4 separate regions of the Homo sapiens genome follow, and regions 2, 3 and 4 are each linked to region 1. Evidence: promoter capture Hi-C in 16 types of primary human blood cells and fetal thymus (Javierre and others, 2016). All regions are on one chromosome and are shown on one strand. The core of a region is centred on a gene start or on the middle of the fragment in contact, and the rest is flanking DNA. Distances in the headings are between cores, read along the strand shown.

Region 1 (2,964 bases), core at 420-2,919:
CTGATCAGAATTCTGATTTTCCTGTCTGAGGGCATCTTATACTGAAGTTACCAATAAATAAGTATCAAAGCTATACTATCAATATCCCCAAATGAATAACATCCTGAATGAACAAAAACAGCACAACTTTATATTTTCTACTTACTTTGCAAAAGGTTATATTTGAGATAGTCTAAAGACAAAATAATAAAGCCTAGGAATACTAAGAGAGCATTTAAATCCTAAATACCTAAAATGGTATACTAATATTAAAGTCATTGACAATTCATTAGCATGTTTGATAAATAGCAGAAAGCTGGACTTCAGGTCCTCTGGGTGACCCAACTATTCAAAGCCATTCACATTCTGGTCCTAATCCAACCTTTCCAGATTCATTTATTTCTTCTCTACTTGCACCCTCTGTTCCTGCTACAGTGGACTACTACTCAAACACACCTTTCACGATTCAATACCTTGTTACAAGATGTTCTCAGGCTCAGATGTCCTTCCCGATTTAAAACTGACTGATCCTTTTAAAACACGGTCATGTAACCTCCTCAGTGAAACAACCCTAAACATAATCATTCCGTTACCCAGGTTCCCAGAACATGCTGCTTTTTCTTCTACTTAAGCATGCATCTGGCCTCATGAGAGAATGAGAACATACACATCTGTTTCTCCTATCAGACTGTAAAATTTTGGATGGCCTCAGTCTCTTACCTCTCACAGACTAATACCGAGCCAAATACCCAGAAAGAACATATGAAACAAAAGTGACTTAGAAGTCTCGTTCTCAGTGAAAATCTCGGATTCCAAGTCAGAAATCAAAGAATGCAGTTCCAACTTCTCATGCCTCGTCTTTTCTGAAAAGTGATCCCATTTTCTGTCATCTCTGGATACTTCCTAATGAACTCCAGTCTATTCCCAACGTTTTCCTAATTTGCACACTCTGTATTCCATAAAACGATCAACTAGCTTGAAAGCTTCGGCCATTAATGAAAGTAATTTATGTTTTCCTCTTCCATCTGCTCCTCCAATAACCAGTCTCCAAAGAAAAAGATCAATATTATACTAAAAGTGACTAAGGGAGGGAAAACAACTACCAGATTTTATCCCCAAATCGTTTCGTGCAAGAAAAATAAACAAGTAACTGACGCTTGAAGACACACAAGGGTAGGAGTAACGGAATCTCGGTTTAACCAAATTCGATTCAGTCTGCCGGAAAAGCGGCTGCCGTATTTCAGTGCTTTTCTGACCCTCTTCTGCACAAACTATGGGGACGACAGTGTCGAGAGGCGAGTGAGACCTTCTCCCCACGCCCGCTTCCCCGATCCCTTGCCCACGAATCCTACTGAGGAAGCCGCTTAAACGAGGCCCTCTGGTCAGAGAAGAGAAGCTACTCTGAAGTAGCAGGTCCCAAACACTGAACAAAGCGCCTGTCGGGGGTGTAAGAGGAGGACGCCATTACGCGGGGCAGTGGCCTGCGCCGCTGGCGCGGAGGAGACGACCCTTGGCCCCGAAACGCGGGCTCAGCTCCTACGAAAGAAACCATAGAAAAAGGCAGAATCCTAGGAAAAAAGGCTTTTATTAGGCTAGCAACGAAGAAAACACGTAAGCAGGGAAAGACCGCTTACCTTCGTGAGTCTTGGCGATCTTCGCCATTTTGTCCACTCGAACACACAGACGGAACTGGCGCTCCCAAGAACTTCCGCTCGTCGCCGCCGCCACGGAGAAAAATAGCTGGGGGCTGCACTCTGCGCGTGCGCCAAACGGGAGCGCGCTCCGTCGGGTGACACGTGACAGAACTGCCACCTAGAGGGAACCGCGAGGTGCATTGTGGGTGGGGGAGGAGACACGGTTGGGCCCTGAAGTCGCCTGCGTGGTGACCCAGGAAATCCCCGAGCCGAGCCGTAAGGTCCTTAAGTGAGTAACTTTGCCCTGGAGGAAAGTGGATTCTACGAAGGGAGTTAAGAACAGACACTGAGTCCCAGCAACTCTGGAGGCTGAGGCGGGAGCATCGCTTGAGCCCAGGAGTTCGAGGCAGCCGTGAGCCGTAATCGTGTCGCGCCACTGTACTCAAGCCTCCAGACCGGGCGACAGAGCAAGACCCCGAGACCCCTCCCATTAAAAAAAAATGAACACTGTACGAAACGCTGCGGTTTCAGAGCTGGAAGAGACCTCAGACATTCAATCCCTTTTCCCAAAATTCACTGGAAGAGCTCGAGGAAAACTTTCCCTTGCAGCTGTCTCAGTCTTTACAGTGCTTAGTTACGAAGACAGTCTTAACAGTCCCATCTTTCGCCCTGTAATTCAAGGTCATTTTTCATTCTTTCTGTTTAATAATTGCAAATAATTTGGGTAGGAATTTCGTTGAGCCTCACAAATCGTTGCTGAGTTGCACAGTGACAATCTTGCCACCCTTTTAAAGCCTTTTACTTTATGGGTTCCTAGAAAACCACTCATCGTCATTATTAACATTCATTAGATGTTTCTCTTAAATCCTAGACGGTATTCCTAAATCAGGAATTTTAATAGATCAGAATACGGCAGTCTGTTTTCCTGGGCATCAATTATAATATAACCTTGTACTGTCACACTGGTCTTTGACTTCGACGATGAAAAAGAAAGAAAGGCTCAGAAAGATGGGTCCCGGAAGCAGCCGAGGAAAACAGGTAGTTATCAAGGTTAGAGCCATCACAAAGAGAGGAGTACCTCGCTATGTGATAAACCTGCAACCCAAATACTAACCATACCATGGGTCAGTATGGTCGTTTGAAGGGAGGGAAATGGTATGGGTGTATTCCTCTTGCAGGAAGACCCCATATCTACTTTGGGTAAAGTGAGGAGCCATTTTCCTGAGGCTAGCGGTAGGTGGGAGATATATGGACAATGGCACTGGACTGAGAGCTTAGATAACCTGTCCCTGGTGACTCCTGACCTGCAGCCTTGCTCCCTCTTTCCCTCTCACCAGACTCCCTCCCTTCT
Region 2 (3,329 bases), core at 498-2,997, 6.5 Mb before region 1:
GGAGAGGAAGGTTTTACACAGAAGGCATGATAGGTTAAAAAAAAAAAAGATGAGATAGCACTTATTTACAGGTCATTGAGTCTAGTCAATTACATTGGGGAATTATAAGGATTAAGTTAGGAATAAATAGTGTAAAACTAATTTATAGAGAACTGCATACCAGACTGAGGAGTATGAATTCCCCCTTTGGTATGGGGAAACTAATTTGGTCAGTGGGGTAAGCAAAGACAGTTCCTCTTTTCATGTTGCAGAAGTTGGCCCTGCATTTAAACTTAATGTAGATTTTGGAAGGTAGTCTCCTCATTTACCTCAGATATATATATTCAGAATATATATATTCTCAACACTAAAAAATTAAGTATTCATATAATAGCCTATAGGTAGAAACAGGCACCTTAATTCACACATTCTGTGCTCTAGCTGTTTTTTGTTCTTTATAAACACTAAGTGAATGCTTACTTTCATCCCTTTGGTCTGTTTGCCAGAAATCTTTTTCTGTTGCCATGCTTCCAGCTCTTACCCATCTTTCAGGTTTAGCTCAGATTCCACCTCATCTAAAAAAAAGCTTGACCTTATTAGACCACAGTGAAGTAGTTTTCCAAAGTCTGGATGTCATAGATCTATTCTTGTAATTCCTCATTTTATGTACATGTCTCCTACTTCTTCTAGACTGTAAATGATGTCTAACATGATGTCATACATGGCATGGGATTTTTCTTCTTTTTCATTAAGAAATTATTTTTTAAGACAGTTAAAGGCTAAAGTAGGGGAAGGAATGGGTAAAAGAAGAAACAATATGATGGTAAGATGATCTTAAAGGCAGCATTTAGAAAGGAAACGAGAGAGACAGTATAAGTTGGAGAAGAAGTAAAAAGGTGAGAAATAAGGATTTTCCTTCAGATTATCTTCTGTTATATCCTATTTGAATTGCTGAATATCATAACCATTTTATGTTTTTCTCTTCAGGGGAATCTGGAGGATTCATTTGGGTTATTAATAATTGTTGATGATAAGATTTGAAAGATTGCTATAATCCTATTTGTCATTAAAACTTAAATACTTCTCTCAAGGATTTCCTAGTTACTATATAGTTACCAAAAGCTATAGTTTTTAGCTTTTGAATTTTAATGAAAAATACATTATTGTGAAGAATTACCAGAAAGAATTAATTTAGGGAGAGAAAAGGGGGGTTAAGGCATGAATGATCTTGAGTAGTTTCTGCCTTGTGGAAAGTTTGAGGAGAATATTTGAGTATGTTTGTTCGCCAGACTGTTGAAGCGAATTCATTCTCAGATCAAAATCTGAGGTTTCAAATGCTGAAATAGGTAGTAATTTCTTTTTATCAGTTTTGACAGCTTATTTTGTGAGCTTATTTTTTAGGGCTGGCTTAAATTCTTTCCCCTATAGATAAAAATTAATTTCTTGTTTAAAAGCAAGTAAACATTTGTCTTTTTTTGCTAGCTTTGGCAATAACGTGGTCATTTTAATTTTTTTTCACTATGTGCCATAAGCTAAAAAAGTGTATATTTTACGTTATTTACATAGCTTTTAGGCAAAGCAAATACCATTTACTTGTGTGATAAATACATAGAAAGCTTATTCTGCAGTTTTTTAAAGTGACAAACTACCACTATCTGAAGTTTATTTGACCAACCATTTGCTGTAAATAATTGGTATGTTATTATCCACTGATTTTTTGACAGCTGGTTCAGTTTTTTCTTTGAATATTAGGTGGTGAGTATTGTTAAGCTGTGTTTAATGGTATTAGGTCAGGATAAGACCTAGAAAACTTGTTTGTACCTTATAAAAGTAATAACAAGCTAGTAAGTTAGAGAGCCAGTATAATGTAGCAGTAGTTTGGATTCAGAAAAATCCATCTTTGCCATTGTGTAACCTTGGAAAGCTTCTTAACCTCTGAGCCTCTGTTTCCTAATCTGTGAAATGGGGACAGAGGTAGTCATTTTTTTGAACAAATAACAAATTTGTTGAGCTTCTAAGTATGTACCAGAAATCATACTATGTTTTGGATAACAGTAGTACCTCTGTCATAAAATCCTTGGAGGATTAAGTTAGAATGCATGTAAAACACTTAGCACAGTGTGTAGAATATAAGTAAGTGATCAATATATTGTAGTTATTATTACTAAAACATCCCAAATGTATTTTTTTTGGAGACAGAGTCTCGCTCTGTTACCCACTCTGGAGTGTGGTGGCACGATCTTGGCTCACTGCAACCTCCACCTCCCGGGTTCAAGCTATTCTCCTGCCTCAGCCTCCCAAGTAGCCGGGATTCAGGCGCCTGCCACAACGTCTGGCTAGTTTTTCTATTTTTAGTAGAGATGGGGTTTCACCGTGTTGGCCAGGCTGATCTCGAACTCCTGACCTCAAGTGATCCTCCTGCCTCAGCCTCCCAAAGTGCTGGGATTATAGGCGTGAGCTGCCACGCCCAGCTTCAAATGCATTTTTAGAAGTTGTCTAAGAGCAAAAACAGTTTCAGGGAATAATTATGTATCAGGATATGTCATTAAATATTTTAATGATAAAGCTATGTGTTTTTAAAAAACATTTGTGTGACATTCAGTATTTAAAAGTTTGGTTAATCATAGCATTTTAGTGTTACACTAGTTTAGTTAATTAAGATTTTTAATGCATACTTATTGGTAACGTTTTTCTTTTAATAGTCTTTATGATTTGTAGAATTTGATGTATACAGTCTTGCCTTGTCCTTCTGTATATGTTAAGAGATTGGTTCCAGGTCCCCCACAGCTCAAGTCTCTTATGTAAAATGGCATAATATTTGCCTATAACCTACATATATCCTCCCATATATTTTAAATCATCTCTAGATTACTTATAATACCTAATAAAATGTAAATGCTATGTAAATAAGTCTTATACTATCTTTTGAATGTACGTTTTTTTATTTTTTTTCTGAATATTTTTTATCCGTGTTGGTTGAATCTATGGATGCAAAGGGCTGACTAGGATATGTAAACCTAGATCACTTTAGAAATAATAACTACAACTACTGTCAGTGGAGTCTTACTCTCTGCCAGACATGTTCTAAAGATATTGAATGTATTGAGTCAACTGATCCTCACCACAACCCTATGAGGGAGGCACTGTTTTATTCCCTTTCTCAGATGAGGAAACTGGATCACAGAAAGGTTAATTAATTTACCCAAGGTTACACAACTATAGTATTACAGCCAGGATTCAAGAACTTGTGCACTTGATCTTAACTACTGTGTAGTAGTTAATTGCTATCTCTCCCAGATTTTATAATCAGGTTAACTATTTGAATAATATGTAAATATAGTCATCATATT
Region 3 (3,342 bases), core at 259-2,758, 6.5 Mb before region 1:
TTTGTTGCATTTTGTTTTTTCTTTTCCATTTTTAAAACTAATGTGATGTCTTTAGTGGCAATAGAAGGTACTTCTATGCTAAATACAAAACTAAAAAGGCAAAATAATGAACCCCAAATTATTTTATTTAAAATAGCAGTGGATTATAAAATTAGCTTGTGTTTACATTTATGCCATTTTTGGTGATAGATTGGCTTTACATTTTAAAAAATTTATTTAAAAATTTATCAAATGCTTTAAAATATGACTCCTACTTTTTTTATTTTGCAACTCCTCTGTTCTGTCAGAGTTGTTATATACAGGAGTGTCTTATGTTACTAAAACATTCCAGCCAAAGAATTTCAGATGTGAGATAATGATGTTTCATCAATAAAAAGCTATAATGGTTAGTTACTCAGAAGGAGAAACAGTGAGTGTCTTCAAGTGAATTGTTCACCTAAACAATTTTATTTTCATATTATCCACATAACTTTTTCTATGTTATATTTAAATATGAATGGCAAATTTTGGTTTTTAGCTTTTACATTTTATTATCTTAATTTTATAAATGCTAATATTTCTTTTGTGATAAGTTATAGCATCTCATAAAGTTTGTTCTATTTGAAGTTTTTTAGAGTACTTGAGAAATGAATTTAGTCTGCAGGTAGTAAGTATGCTACTAAAATACGTTAGATCTAAATCCTTTTATTTGGTATAAAAATGCAATATTGAGAATCAAAACTTGTTTTTAAGAGAACTATAGATTCTACACAACCTGATTTCAAGTAATTATTCATAGTATTTATAGTTGTCTTGGCAAAGTGATTGTAAAATTCTGTAGGACCTATTCACACTTCTTCCTTCTTCCATATACTTCTCTGGTTTTCCCCATAGTTCCCCTATAATTTCAAGTTTGTTGAAACCTGTTAATTTTAGTGGGGGATTAGAAGAAAAACTTGGTGGTTTCTTAGCATGATGGTGTATGTATGTGGTAATGGAAAGTCTGTAAAAGTAAATATAGTGTAGCAAAAAAGATTTCACTGAGTATTTTAGATACTAGTGCAAATAAAGATAGAAAATCTTGATCATAATGTCTTAAGTTTGGGAACTGTGATATTAAGAAAAGAAATTCCCTTCTAGAGGTGCTGGCCAAAAAGCCTTTTGGGCTAACTTAAGTATTAAATTTATATATTTAAATAATTATATTTTAAGTTGTAGAGGATTTTCCCAAGGATTTTATGCTTACTTGAATGTTCTTTGAATGTTCAGATGCATATCCTAACTGGATGCTTCTCAAGGCCTTACTGCATATTTGTGTTGCATATTTATGTTAGTTGCACCAGGGCCATTTGTAGTTTGGGCAACCGAATGCCTTAATTGGAAAAAAGGCATTGTGGTTTCCCCTATGATCTAAATTGTTACATTTTACCATTTCATTCCGAAGTTGGTTTTACTTTATTAAATGAAGATTTAGTTTTCATATCGTATACATAGCTGTATAGATTTCAAAATTAGGTTGTTAATTTGTGTCACTTACTATTTTTGTGTTGGTAATGCTTTAAATGCATACTTAAAAATGAAGTACTGTTATCTAAGCTACTGTGTTTAGAAAATGTTAAGAATGAGCAGAAATTTTTATAGAAAAGTATAAACGGAAGAAGAGATAAGATACTGCGAATAGGCCCTCAAACTTAAAAAAGAAAAAACTTTGCCAGTTTTAAGGACATATTTTGATTCTTTCAGTATTCTTAACACCTTTTTAAACAAAGTTCTTGATAGTACCCACTATTATTGGGTTTGTTTTATGCCATTATTGATTCTTGATATTCAAGCATTTACAATGTAGCATATTTGATTTTCTTTTTTCTTTCTTTTTTTGGCATCATTAACATTTCATTTGAAATGCATATTGTTCTTGAAGTACTTTGTTTTTAGCATAAATGTTGTGCATTTTATCTTAGTGTTTGGATGAAAACATTTGTGTTGTTTAGCTTTCATTTGCTTTGTATATTTAATAATGTACCTTTATTTTCCAGTATGCCTACATTTTGTATTGCACAATAAATTTATTTTAAGCTGATTTTATTGTTTTTTTTGTTTTGTTTTGTTTTGTTTTTATAAAAGCAACTTCAACATTTTAAGTACAAATACAGTTGGGATTTTAACTTAGAAAAAATTATTCTTTATGAAGATACTGTTAAAGTGTTTGCTATTCTGAAGCTGCCTCAAAGTAAACTAGAAATATTCAAAAGGGCTTTATTTGATTTTTTAAAATGCAATATAGCATTAGTGGTTTTTTTGGGAGGAGGACTTTTCTTATTGGTTGTACTAGAAGTATTTGAATAAAAACTTTTCTCTCAATTTTTTTGGTGGTTTTTCCATTTGGTAACTTTAAAAAAAGTGCAACCCTATTTGTAGGTTATTTCTGCTTTCTGAGGAGGAATATTGTTGTTATTCACTATGTAACTCTCATTTTATCTGTTGTTGCCTAAATAATAGGAAAAACATTGCTAAACCAAATGAAGAGTATCATCATATTGCTTTAGAATAAAACTGTTAATCTCAGTAGAATTTATATTAAACAGAATGACAGTGATACAGAAATTCACCTTAACTGGTTTCTGAGGGGATTACATTTTCAGAAGGAATTTTGTATATTTCCACAGCATGATCCAAATTATAGTACAAATTATAGAGGCTCCATGTATTGTAGGTCAAATATAGTACTTTACATTTTTATGTTTAATTAAATCTGCCATTCATATTCTGGAGATTCCTGAATATATTGTAGAAGTTTTAAAACTATTTGAAAGGGGAAATACTGTTGTTTACATGAATTTGTATTAATCTGTGGGATTTTTAAATGAAGTTCTTTTAGAATTAGTTAATAAGGAGTTCCAGTATAATGATATATTCAATATATGTAACAGTTTATGATTACTTGCTTTTAAAGATTTTTTTAAAAAATTTATTTGAAGTAAAGAGAGAGGAGACTTAAAATACCTGGTGATCTTGATCTGACAGTGTATATTTAATAGGCATATATTTATGTGGAAAGAACTGCTGAAATATACTGATATGTCAGCCTATATCCTGATAATTTATATATAATGTGTGGGTTGCATATGTTTGTGCATATGTATATACGTTTGTGCATACATATATATGATTTCCTTATCTATGTACCTTAATCTACCCATTCATATTCTGAAAATGATGAGCAGTTCTTTTCACATTGTGTACTATGTATAAATTATTCATTGATCTATTCCTGTTCCAAGCTTTGACACAAAAGAACCCCTAAAATTTTTGCTGCCCTAGAATTGGTAAAGTATAACATACTTTACTTCTTCAATTTGACTT
Region 4 (3,390 bases), core at 300-2,799, 8.7 Mb after region 1:
CCAGAAACCCTGCCTGATCCTGCCCCTCTCACTGACAGTCTCCTCGCTGCTCCCTACATCTTCCTCTCCGCCGGAGCTGTCCAGAAGGGGGATTTTGGACCCAAAGGAATCGGGATGAAAGGGGGTGGGTACTCAAGCTGAAAATAACACCCCCAGTTGGTGGGGTAAGGGCTAAAAAAGGCAATAGGGAAAGATTGTCCGGCAGAAACACCACCTGAGTTTACCTCCTCCTTCCCACCCCAAAAACCCAGTCACTAACTAATAAAGCTAAGAAAAGCCCCTTGCAAACTTTTCCAAACCGGAAGAGAAGGCCCTCTCCCCAACCTGGGGGGCTCTAGGGGGAAGGGGCTGGAGTTAGCAGCCCCGAATGGGCTCGCGGGGAGTTGGGTGGGGCGCGGGCGAGGGGTGCAGGGGCGGAGTACCTTCTTCAATGGACAGGAACTGGCAAAGAGTTTCAAAATAGCCGAGTGCGCTCCCCCACGCCCTGGGGGGTCCCGGGCGCTAGGACCAGGGCTCCCCGGAGAGACAGCGGCCCCCAGTTCGGGCCTAAAAGGAAACTTTCTGGGCCGCGGCTGCACCTGACTCCTCACCGCCCCTCCACCCGACCCCACGCCCGCCAGGCCGCCCGCCCCGCCCCGCCCCGGCCTGGCCGTCCGGAGCGCGGAGGAGGGGGATAAATAAATTCAACTCTTACCGGAATCTGGGGGCCGTCTGCGAGAGACCCGGGGGAAGGGGAGCCGGGCGCCCATTCCCCACTCCCCACTCCTAGGCCCTGACGCCCCTGTCCCGGCAGCCCGGGCCTGCCGCCCCGCGGGAAAGCCTCCGGGCCGGCGCGGGATTCGGCCCAGCAGCGCCGCCGTCCCACCCGGAGACCCCGGGGGACTCGAGGGGGCGCGCGGAGGCCCGGGGTGCGGGGGCAGGGCGCGGCTGCCGTGGGGCCTACCGGCCCGAGGCCTACCGGCGCCCCCCCCTCCCGCCGCACACCCCCACCTGGCCCGCGCAGGCCGCTCCGCTCGCCCCACTCCGGCTCCGGCTGGACCCCTGCCCGCCCGCCGTCGCCGCCCGCGGGCGCCCCGGAGGCCCTCAGGCCCCCGGCCTCCACCACCCGGGCGCCGGCCCCACTCACCCTTTCATTCTCCGCCCGGGGCCTGGCGTGGGCCGGCGAATCCCCGGCCTCACGTAAGCGCGCTCGCCGCCCGCCCAGCCTGCGCGGCCCAGCCCGCCGCCCTACGGGAGCCCGGGGATGTGGGCCGGGCCTGGGGCCGCCTCTGCTTACCTTTCAGCTGCTTTTTTTTTTCTCCTTCCCCCCTGTTCCCTCGGCTGGGCTGACAGATCAGAGTGAGAGGCGCTGGCAATGGACTAGGAAGCTCGGCTGCCGCTGCTACTGCTCCCCCCTGGGCTCCGGCGAGAGCCTTTCCCTGTCAAGCAAGAGGGGTGAGGATCATATTTTTATTTTGGAAACTAAAAAGTGCTCCCAGGGTCGGTGATTATTAAGGGGAAATCCCTGAATATACTCTCCAGCCAAGAAGGCAGGGCTGCCGGGGCTGTACAAGAAGAGGCAGCAGCCTCCTACAGCACCACTACAGGCACTGCGAGGACATAACACCAGAGAGCTGCTCCTCTGCCCTCCGAAACGACAACTTTCCTACCATCTTGGAGGCAGAGCAAAGGGGGGCCAGGGGGAAAAGTGCACCCGCTCCCGATAAAGTACAAATTTTTACTTCTCATCTCTGGAAAAAAGTCCACACCGGCCGTCTACACCCGCGCCTGGGGGAGAAAGCAGGGAAGAAACGGGGGGTGCATGAGAAACGTTTTCATTTGCTCCAGGGGGAAAAATGTTTCTGCATCTTCTGATGGAAAGAAATCTTTACAAGACACAGGTTTTCCGGTGGTTATTGTTTTTTATTTTCTGTTTTTAATTTTTTTCATGTTAGTGACAGTGATATTTTAATATTTTTTTAAGCCAGTAATAATTTTTCTCCATTACAGGGCTAAGTTCTGTGGCTGGTGGTCAGTTTGTAAATTTATACTTAAAGAGACTTAATAGTAACTTCATTTATTTGTCTGGTTATGTTATTGTATATATAAATATTTATGTTTTCATATATTGCATATAAAAATTTGTGTTACATGTTACTCTCAGAACAGATTGCTGTAAGACAATTGTAAAAAAACATGTCTTTCGTCTGTTTCTCAAAGCAATGTAAATAAAACCTATGGACTGTCCAGAAAGGCATGATACAGTGTGTCATTTTCCACAGTGCAGATAAAGGCAGCTATCACTGGGGATTTAAAAACGGCCCCTGTTTCTGGAAATTCTGTTATGCTGCCCATACAGAAAGGATACAGTAAAACTGGAAAGAGATTTTAAAGACAGCCTTAGATTTTTCTTGAGGTAAAATAGCTTATTAAGAATTATATCCGGGCATTTAATTTTTTTATTTATTTAGATTCTTTAAACTCTAGCTAGATCTTTGGTGCATTACACATGTTGCTATCTGCTTTTTGTGTCACAGAATTGAGAAATGTGGCTATTTTTGTTAGTTATGTTAGTTCAGAACTTCCAATGTGCTGCCAGCCTGTATGATAGACTTTTTGTATATTGCAGTGGATGTCATGAATTTACTTTTTTAAATGAGCAAAGCTTACTAGATAAATGGGATCAGAGTTAAACAATGCTGTTAGCACAGAGGTGAGAGGGACAAAGGGTACCCATTTACATCGATTCCAATAGAACGCTTATTGGAGGATAAATTGCAGAGACATTTTTCTATTTTTGTGAAGAAAGAGAAAAATAATAGAAAAAGAACCGACTATCTTTGTATGTTCTACTGGGGATGATGATTTAAATCTTGTATTAAAAGTTATTTTTCTAACACATGTTGACTAACCTGGCAGGAATGAATTTGTTATATTAGTGCCCTGAATCAGTAGAATATTTAATTTCTTTGTAAAATTTATTACACAACATTTAGAAATAACTTCCAAATTTAGAAATTGTCCTGATTTAAAAGTGAGTTCATGTAATGCATATATCGGATATTTATTAGTTTCTAGCTGAACCTTATCTTTATCATATAACTTTGAATATAGTACTTACCTAAATATTCTGGATTTTCTTTTTTTTTTTTTTTTTTTTTTTGAGACGGAGTCTTGCTCTTTCGCCCAGGCTGGAGTGCAGTGGCCCGATCTCAGCTCACTGCAAGCTCCGCCTCCTGGGTTCACGCCATTCTCCTGCCTCAGCCTCCCGAGTAGCTGGGACTACAGGCGCCCGCCACCACGCCCGGCTAATTTTTTCTATTTTTAGTAGAGACGGGGTTTCACTGTGTTAGCTAGGATGGTCTGGATCTCCTGACCTCGTGATCCGCCCGCCTCGGCCTCCCAAAGTGC

The links. The method cuts DNA at HindIII sites, captures the fragments that hold promoters and counts their contacts. A CHiCAGO score of 5 or more calls a contact.
Region 2: a fragment that was not itself captured here is called in contact with the fragment with the promoter of SF3B1 in region 1 in 1 of 17 cell types (total B cells); the score reaches 6.0 in total B cells.
Region 3: a fragment that was not itself captured here is called in contact with the fragment with the promoter of SF3B1 in region 1 in 1 of 17 cell types (total B cells); the score reaches 6.3 in total B cells.
Region 4: a contact is called between the fragment with the promoter of INO80D here and the fragment with the promoter of SF3B1 in region 1, in 1 of 17 cell types (neutrophils). The highest score is 11.6, in neutrophils.

What each region holds. Positions count from the first base shown.
Region 1 is chr2:197,433,359-197,436,322 of GRCh38, forward strand. It overlaps SF3B1 (splicing factor 3b subunit 1), which reads right to left and starts at 1,670. Exons shown (of 25, transcript NM_012433.4): 1 at 1,614-1,670. The coding sequence starts at 1,641. RefSeq lists enhancers at 1,007-1,553, 1,298-2,497, 1,739-2,048, 2,069-2,118. The HindIII fragment of the contact is 13,845 bases long and covers 961-2,964 here.
Region 2 is chr2:190,891,433-190,894,761 of GRCh38, forward strand. The region is part of intron 1 of GLS (glutaminase); the gene reads left to right. Among named protein-coding and RNA genes, the nearest start is that of GLS, 12 kb to the left of the region's middle. The HindIII fragment of the contact is 308 bases long and covers 1,594-1,901 here.
Region 3 is chr2:190,933,231-190,936,572 of GRCh38, forward strand. All of the region lies in intron 14 of GLS (glutaminase), which reads left to right. Among named protein-coding and RNA genes, the nearest start is that of GLS, 54 kb to the left of the region's middle. The HindIII fragment of the contact is 3,499 bases long and covers 1-3,258 here.
Region 4 is chr2:206,084,625-206,088,014 of GRCh38, forward strand. INO80D (INO80 complex subunit D) reads right to left here and starts at 1,550. Exons shown (of 11, transcript NM_017759.5): 1 at 1,277-1,550. INO80D-AS1 (INO80D antisense RNA 1) reads left to right here and starts at 31. Exons shown (of 2, transcript NR_186084.1): 1 at 31-124; 2 at 1,333-2,880. RefSeq lists silencers at 281-575, 477-526, 567-766, 787-956, 1,037-1,246 and enhancers at 1,297-1,586, 1,313-2,132, 1,637-1,686, 1,697-1,806. The HindIII fragment of the contact is 4,007 bases long and covers 1-2,642 here.